Regions from separate parts of the Homo sapiens genome. Here all the other regions are linked to region 2. The links are contacts of gene promoters, found by promoter capture Hi-C in blood cells and fetal thymus (Javierre and others, 2016). All regions are on one chromosome and are shown on one strand. The core of a region is centred on a gene start or on the middle of the fragment in contact, and the rest is flanking DNA. Distances in the headings are between cores, read along the strand shown. Region 1 has its middle 2.8 kb from the start of AFG2B. Region 2 holds the start of SHF (Src homology 2 domain containing F). Region 3 overlaps AFG2B (AAA ATPase AFG2B).

Region 1 (2,919 bases), core at 204-2,703, 210 kb after region 2:
TTTATTTCTTTCAAAGCAATTTTCATCACCTTTAATTATCAGATTTATTCACTTGTTTACTTCTTCAATGTTTGACTTCCCAGTAGACTATAAGCTTCATGAAGGCAAGGATTACAGTGTTTTTATTGTTGTTGTTTGCCACCAAATACTCAGCCTCTGGTATAGTAACTAGCAAGAAGTAGATGTTCAATAAATATTTGTTTTAATAAATATATAATTATTATGTTTGTTGAAAAGTGTGAACCAACATCATAGGGAAAAATTACCTTAACATTAACTTCTAAAAAATGATGAATCAAGCAATTTCCTGAAAATGTGCAAGAACAGACTTTCAGAATGATGTTCTATGAACTGTAGTCTGCAGGTCATTTGAAATCCAGCAAATATTTTCATCCTCCTTCTTCTGATTCTATAACTTATTCTATATCTAGAATTACTCTAAAGACTAATTCTAACCTGGATACAAGATAAAAAGTAAAGATGGAAGATTCTAAAGAACAATTTTAACAATGTCCCATTTAGGGGGATTTTCATTACATACTTTATGAACACAGGTTCGGCATATTAGCTATCCGTGGAAATAAGTCACTTACTACATCTACATGAGCATGTTGAGATGAAAGTGTTTGCAAATCATGCTTTTTCAAGGGTGGCTAAACAAATCTCTATTCATCTATTACAACTCATAGTCATTGCTAATGTTCAAATATATTAGGGTTGAACATAACACAAAAATGGAAATGCTGGAAAGATTAACATTATTTAATCTACAGATGACTCATGCTACTGGTTTAACCATTTTCTTTAGATTTTTTTCATATACAGGAATATATTTTTATATACATATATAATATGCTGAAGGGACAAAAATATTGCATGATCATTATCCTAAAGAAACAGATTCCAATTATTTCTTTTGAATTATAGACTTACAGTTAATTAAGAATTTTTATAGTTAATTAAAAATTAGACAGATTGTAACCTTGAATGTAACAAAGGACATAAAGAGAAACCATTTGTCACATGTACCTTTTCGGGAAAATCTCACAAAAGATTTTGTTTGGCAAAGCTATTTGAAACAATTTAAAGCTAGAAATGTTTCTAGGCTATAGCAAGATGAATTCCATCGGTTTGGATTTTGACCTACCACTAAATTTTGGATTTAGGAACAGTCTCATTTTTATACTTAACACAAAAATTAAATTTTAACTTAGAAACTGAGTTTTACACAGCTTGAGGCTTGTGAAAAATTATGTGAAAATAAGTCAGTTACTGCTAGGGTCTCAGTGTTTGTGTCCTCCACAAAATTCATTTGTTGAAATTTTAACCCTTGAGATGATGGTAGTAGGAGTCAGGGCCTTTTGGGAGGTGATTAGGTCACGAGAGTGGAGCCCTCATGAATGGGATTAGTGTGCTTATAAAAGAAACATGAGGGAGCTAGCTAGTCCCTTCCACCATGTGCAGGTACAATGAGCTGTCTCTAGACAGGGGGCCCTTACCAGTCATGGAATCTGCCAGTGCCTTGTCTTTGACTTCCCAGCCTCCAGAACTGTAAAAAATAAATTGCTGTCATTTATAAGCTACCTCGTTCGTAGTATTTTGTTACAGCAGCCTGAACAGACTAAGCCAGATAATATATAGAGACAACAGATGGCTTCATACACCTAGGTGTGAATCCTGGGAAAATTGAGTGGAAACCACAGTTGAGAACACCAACGTCCTAACAATCCTGTAGCCTTCAGGCTTAGTTGGTTCTGGACTCCCTCTAGTGGTTCAATTCTAGTGCTTTAATTGATGTTCTTCAATTCATAGAATTAACAAATTTCTGGTCAGATTAAAAACAACTAAGCAAAAGAGCCACACAACTCCCATTAGAATGGTTTACCACAAGGAGGCCAGGTGCAGTGGCTCATGCCTGTAATCTCAGCACTTTGGGAGGCTGAGGCAGGTGGATCACTTGAGGCCTGGAGTTCGAGACCAGCCTGGCCAACAGGGTAAAACCCTATCTCTACTAAAAATCCAAAAGTTAGCCAGGCGTGGTGGTAGGCACCTGTAATCCCAGCTACTTGGGAGCCTGAGGCAGGAGAATTGCTTGAACTTGGGAAACAGATGTTGCAGTGAGCTGAGATCCTGCCATTGCACTCAAGACTGGGTGACAGAGCAAGACTGTCTAAAAAATAAATAAAATTTTAAAAATAAAAAGAATGGTTTATCACAAGGAGATTATGTCATTGAATGGCATGATAAATATGGATGTTCAGATGGCTGAAATCATAGTGTTGCAAATGGTTAGACCTAAAGGGACAGAATGGATTTTACTGGATGATTGGGAAAGACATTTATAGTTTTGCTCAGAGTGAGTGGATAAGAGCTGAAGGCCCAGTAACAGAATTCCTTGTTGCTTTTGTTTGCAACCTATGGTAAAGACTGGATCTTTTAGAGAAAGAGTGAAGTGAAATAATATTTCCTGTGCATATGGATTCTATAAGGTCAGAGGGTTCTTGTTTGACCTTGTATAAAATCAACCTCTTAGACCAACCAAAAGCAACATGTAGTTTCCTTCTCATCATATTCCTAATAGCATAGTTTGTGCCTCTGTTTTAAACCAATTCAGAAAATTTTGAGGCCGATTTAACTTTATTGGCTCCCTGTTTTGGCTTTGGTTATTCCACTCCATTAAACCTTTACTTCTTGGCCATTTCTGCACTGTAAATATAAGTAAATCTACTAACTCTTTTACATGAGATCCCTTTACATATTTAAGACAGTTATCCTGTCCTCAGTAAGTCTTCTTTCCCTCTCCCAGATCCTTAAAGCTTCTTGGAGCTGAATAGAAGGAACTCGATGAGGTACAGGCTTCTGATAAAATAACTTGATAGGCATGTAATTCACACCTTTAGGGGTCGGTAAAAACGATGG
Region 2 (2,922 bases), core at 81-2,580:
AGACCCAGGAAAAGCTCCAGCCTCCCTCAGAATGGACCAGGGGGAGAGGGAGGCCAGGAGGAGAGGAGGAATGGGCTCAGCTGCTTAGCCCCATGTGGGCAACAGGTCCTGAGCACTGACTATCCTCATACCTGAGAGGACGAGGGAAGGAGGGAGGAGTGGGCCTGGACCCCACGAAGCCCCCTTGGCAAGAGCTGTAAGCTGCCTGTCTTCGCCTCCTGAGAACAACAGCCTATAGGGCAAAGGCCAGCTCGTGCTGTGTCCGCAAGGAGAAACCCGTCTTCACCTCCTTTCTGGGGCTTCAGCACCTGCAAGGATGCTTAGGCTGGAGAAACAGGAGGAGGAAGAGGAGGAGGAAGCAAAGAGGCAACAGGAGGGAAGAGCTTTGTGCTGGCTATGCCCAGGGGGAAGGGTCAGAGATCAAAGGGCACTGAGCCGCTGCTTCCAGAGGGGCAGAAAGGCCATCAACCAGTGGGGGTTGGGAGGTGCGCCTCAATTCCCGTTAGCAAAAGGCTCATGGATCAGGCTAGAGGGGGCTACGAAGTGGAGAGCCAGCCCGGGAGGGGGAGGGTCACCAGTTCTGGGGCCATTACAAAGGATAGGGCAGAGGGGCAGAGTTTGGGGCTTCCGTCTCAGATTAGTCGGTTGAGAATCTGAACAAAGGTGGGTGAAGGCTCGGAACCCCGGGGTCAGGGGCTCGCGTCTGCCAGAAGCTGAGACACCGAGGGGCCCGGGCCAGGCCACCTTTGTCCCTCTCGCAGCCTCCAGACCCCTGACCGCCTTCCCTCCTGGCCATCCCGGCCCGGCGCGGCACTCACCCTATCGCTGCTGGCGGGGGGTCCGGAGATCCGCTCATCAGCAGGCGGCGCCGGGGGCCCCGGGGTCTCGACCCGAATAAGGCGGTGTGGGGGAGAGCCGTGGCGCGGGGGCGGCGTGGGTCCGGGGGCGACAGGGGTGGCGAGGGCGGCGGAGCCGGACGACCCCCCGGAGTAGGGGTCTTCGAAGTCGCGCTCCCGCTGCAGCCTGTAGGCGGCCAGGATGTCCGGGGGCGGCGCGGGGGGCGCGGCCGGAGAGGGCGCAGGGGGGCGGTAGTCGGGCTCGGGGGGCGCCGGCTTGCTGCCCCCTCCGCCGCCGCCCCCCCCGCGGAAGCCCAGGTGCTCCCGGAGCCACTTGGCTACTCCGCCGCTGCCGCCCCCTCCTGGGCCGGCTCCCGCACCCCCGGCGCCCCGGCGGGACCCCCCCGGGCCGCCCCCAGCGCTCCCCTGCGTTCGCGGCCCCGGGCGGGAGCCAGCCGGAGGAGCTCCGCTCAGTAACATGGGGCCAGCCAGACTGAGCGAGGGGAGCGCAGCGGCGGGTGGGGGGCGGGGGCGGGGGTGGGGAGGGGGGCGGGGCTCCGCCGGGCGGGGAGGGGGCGGGGCGCTTCAGTAACAAGGGAGAGGCGGGGCTCCGCTCCCTAACAGGGTCTTCCTCCTCCCGTAGCTCGGAAGAGTGTACGCGGGCTTCCAGCCGGTATGCACAGGCAAGAAGTGAAGTGGGCAGCCCTGGGGCAGAGGATGCGACTACTGGACTGAGGTTGAATCCTTTACGTGTCGCCACGCGGTCCCCTGTGGGGAGCGCATCCATCCCCATCTGTTCTTTTCCCCAGCTCCCAGCTCGTGCGAGACGCAAAGAGGGGAGCCCCCAGACTCCTGACTCTAGGGAGCCTTACGCCTCTCCTCTTCCCTCTCCCAGGATCTCGCAACTGGGAAACTATAATCTAGGAGGAAAATCTAGGCGGGCAAGAAAAGGGGCTAGGTTCTGTAAGATGTGTCTGTAAGCCTCCTCCTCCCGTGCTACCTTGGGAGCCCCACAACCTCCTCCCATCCAACCGTACGCACTGCACATACCCGAACCTACGTTACTTCCCGATCCAGGCAAACACATCTCACATCACATACAAACAACTCCCTAGAGACGCCCACTTCTCCCGTGTCGTTTTCACACACGCCCTTCTCACACGCAAACAGCCCTCGCTCAAACATCCCCCACCCACGGGAGCACCTGCTCCAAACGGGCCCACATGGCCCTGACGATAGCATGCGCACGCACGCAGAAATCCCTTCCAGCCACATCCCGGGCTTCATTGTCAATCAGATTAGTAACAGAATGGAAACAGACAAGTCAATAAATCAAGTCTAGAAACAGTCCCAGTGTTGTCTATCACAAACTCCTTATCCTCTTGAGGCTCAGATGCTCAAGTGCTAGGCATTTTTGTCTTAGAAATAAAGCCAGTTCCGGCTGGGCGCGGTGGCTCACGCCTGTAATCCCAGCACTTTGGGAGGCCGAAACGGGAGGATCACGAGGTCAGGAGATCGAGACCATCCTGGCTAACACGGTGAAACCCCGTCTCTACCAAAAATACAAAAAAATTAGTCGGGTGTGGTGGCGGGCACCTGTAGTCCCAGCTACTCGGGAGGCTGAGGCAGGAGAATCGCTTGAACCCAGGAGGCAGAGGTTGCATTGAGCTGAGATTGCGCGACTGCACTCCAGCCAGGGCGACAGAGTGAGACTCCGTCTCAAAAAAAAAAAAAAAAGAAAAAGAAAAAAGAAAAGGAAAGAAATAAAGCCAGTTCCTCACCATAAATGTAGGCCTGAAGCCAACACCAACACATTTGCTCTTGGCTCTGCTGGGAAAGCAGCTGTCTCACCTCACTTTACCCCACCCCCTTTCCCCCACTGCCTCAGTGTCTCCGCACTCCTAGGTTCATGTCTGCCTTTTTTTTTTTTTTTTTTTTTTTGAGACGGAGTCTCACTCCGTCGCTGGAGTACAGTGGCACGATTTCAGCTTACAGCAACCTCCACCTCCCGGGTTCAAGCAATGCTCCCAGCTCAGCCTCCCTAGTAGCTGGGATTACAAGCGTGCGCCACCACACCTGGTTAATT
Region 3 (2,737 bases), core at 178-2,677, 230 kb after region 2:
CAACTGATTGACATTACTTTGTGTTGTGTGTTTGCCCTCAGAGTTTCAAGAAGTTTTTAACCGAAGTGTCATGATTATTGCAGCAACAAATAGACCTGATGTGTTAGATACTGCTTTGTTACGACCTGGAAGATTAGATAAGATCATCTATATCCCACCTCCAGATCACAAGGTAGTCATTTACACATTTACTCTGTGTGAGCTCAGCAGAATTGAATTCCAACTTGGATATAGGTGTCCATGGTGTTCTACTTACCCTGGGTTCCGCCTTCTTCCTTGCCTGGTGGCCTTTCATGACATCATAATTTTGATCTTCCTTTGTTGGATACTCTGATCTTGTTCACAGAGAAACATAAGCCTAAATATATGGTGGTTATTTTTTGTGTTGTGGCAGACTCTAAATACTGAGTCTACTCAGCGTTATTTTGCAACTAGAGTGGAGGAATCCTAAAGTGTTAAAAGGGCTTTGAAGATTGAGTCAGCATCCTTATCATACAGTGCAGAAGTCTGAAATTACAGAGATTATGCAGTGTATCGTGGTCAACCAGTAAATTTGTTGTCCGTAAAGTACGGTGCAGAAATCTGAGATTACAGAGATTATGCAGTGTATCATGGTCAACCAGTACATTTTTTGTCGTTAACATCCAGAGCCACTGACAGGGAGGGTGAAAGGCACAGAGTGAATTTTTTTGTTCCTTGGGCTTTTATCAAGTTTTGAAGGGATAGAAAAATAAAATTTAATATCTATTATACCTTTAAGTTGTATCTGATAATTCATGTATTTGCTTCTTAAGCCATGTCTGATAGTATTATTTGTACCCAAGAGAGAGATTTAGCCGGGCGTGGTGGCTCACATCTGTAATCCCAGCACTTTGGGAGGCCAAGGCGGGTAGATCACCAGAGGTCAGGAGTTCGAGACTAGCCTGGCCAACATGGTGAAACCCCATCTCTACTAAAAATACAAAAATTAGCTGGATGTGGTGGCAGGCGCCTGTAATCCCAGCTACTTGGGAGGCTGAGACAGGAGAATCACTTGAACCCGGGAGGTGGAGGTTGTAGTGAGCCAAGATCGTGCCAGTGTACTCCAGCCTGGGTGACAGAGCGAGACTCCATCTCAAAAAAAAAAAAAAAAAAAAGATTCATAAGTTTTTTATGATGTCGTTATTTTTACCATTGTCATATAAGCCATTGATGACTTAGTCTTTCTAACCCCTATATATATTTTCTCGGTAATGTGAAAGGAAACTCAAGCTAAAAATATTTTAATAAATCATTGTGTCAAACATAAATGTTATAAGATTTAAAATACTGTTTTTTATTTTGTTCCAGGGCAGGCTTTCTATTTTAAAAGTCTGTACAAAAACCATGCCAATAGGGCCTGATGTCTCCTTAGAAAACCTCGCAGCAGAAACCTGTTTTTTTTCTGGAGCTGATCTTAGAAACCTCTGCACAGAAGTAAGTTAATTATTGAAGAAATTTGTGGTTCAAAACATTTCTGCATCTTTTCAAATCTTCATTCACTCAGCAGTATTTACTAAAAGCCTGTGTGGTACCATGTGATGTGAAACAGACAGATGTGGCCCCATCCCTCACACAGCTTATTGTAAGTGTGGGGTGGTGAGGAGGGTGGTGCAGAGAGGCAAATCTTAATACTGAGTTGGCAATTGAAAATATGTAGTGAGTTGCGGAAGTAGAGGGTACTGTGGGAGCACCTAGGAAAGACACCAGCCCAGATTTGGCACATCAGAGAAGGCTTTCTGAGAAAGGAGATGTATAAACTGAAATTGGAAGGACAAATCGGGAGTTAGCCAGCTAAGAAGGGAAGGGGGAATGTTTGAGGTGGAGAGAATAAAATGTGCAAAGGATTGAAGATAAGAGATGGTGTGACATTATTGAATCTTAGAGTGGAGAATGGCAAGAAATAAAGCGAAAGAAGTGGGCTAGGCGTGGTGGCTCGTGCCTGTGATCCCAGCATTTTGGGAGGCCAAGGCGAGAGGATTGCTTTAGCCCAGGAGTTTAAGATCAGCCTGGGTAATACAGTGAGACCCCATCTCTAGAAAAAATAAAAAATTAGTCAAATGTGGTGTTAGTCCCAGCTACGTGGGGGACTAGTAGTCCCAGCTACTTGGGAGGGGGAGATGGGAGGATTGCTTGAGCCTGGGAAGCGAAGGTTGCAGTAAGATGAGATCGTGCCGCTGCACTCCAGCCTGGGTGACAGAGTGAGACTCTGTCTCTTAGGAAAAAAAAAAAGCTGAAGGAGTAGACAATGGCCAGGACACACGGGTCCTTGTAAACCACTCTAAGATACCCTTTTTCGTAAACTTTTACTAAATATAACATTCAGAAAAATGCACGGATCATAAGGGTACAGTTCATTGAATTAAAGTGATCACATTTTTATAATCACTACTTATGTCAAGAAATAGAACATTATAAACACCCCAGAATCTTCCTTTGGGCCCTTTCCCAACCTCTGTCACCTACCTTCTTCCAAAAGAGAACTATTGGCTGGGCTTAGTGACTCATGCCTGTAATCCCAGCATTTTGTTGGGGCCAAGGCAGGAGGATCATCTGAGCCCAGGAGTTGAGACCAACCTGGGCAACATGGGGAGACCCTGTCTCTACAAAAACTTTTAAAAAATTGTCCCAGCTACTCAGGAGGCTGAGGTGGGAGGATCACTTGAGCCTGGAGGTCAAGGCTGTAGTGAGCCATGATTGTGTCACTGTACTTCTGCCT

What was found. Contacts are between HindIII fragments. The CHiCAGO score rates a contact against its expected background, and 5 or more counts as called.
Region 1: a fragment that was not itself captured here is called in contact with the fragment with the promoter of SHF in region 2 in 16 of 17 cell types (naive CD8 T cells, monocytes, naive CD4 T cells and 13 more); the score reaches 18.0 in naive CD8 T cells.
Region 3: a contact is called between a fragment that was not itself captured here and the fragment with the promoter of SHF in region 2, in 1 of 17 cell types (M2 macrophages). The highest score is 6.2, in M2 macrophages.

The regions. Positions count from the first base shown.
Region 1 is chr15:45,398,047-45,400,965 of GRCh38, forward strand. It overlaps a transcript of GATM not described here. Among named protein-coding and RNA genes, the nearest start is that of AFG2B, 2.8 kb to the right of the region's middle. The HindIII fragment of the contact is 2,722 bases long and covers 93-2,814 here.
Region 2 is chr15:45,186,636-45,189,557 of GRCh38, forward strand. It overlaps SHF (Src homology 2 domain containing F), which reads right to left and starts at 1,331. Exons shown (of 7, transcript NM_001394037.1): 1 at 819-1,331. The coding sequence starts at 1,316. It overlaps LOC124903481 (a long non-coding RNA gene), which reads left to right. Exons shown (of 2, transcript XR_007064608.1): 2 at 1,480-2,183. RefSeq lists an enhancer at 1-311 and a silencer at 1,226-1,275. The HindIII fragment of the contact is 22,026 bases long and covers 1-2,922 here.
Region 3 is chr15:45,417,228-45,419,964 of GRCh38, forward strand. AFG2B (AAA ATPase AFG2B) reads left to right here. Exons shown (of 8, transcript NM_024063.3): 6 at 42-172; 7 at 1,330-1,455. Among named protein-coding and RNA genes, the nearest start is that of COXFA4L3, 12 kb to the right of the region's middle. The HindIII fragment of the contact is 9,891 bases long and covers 1-2,737 here.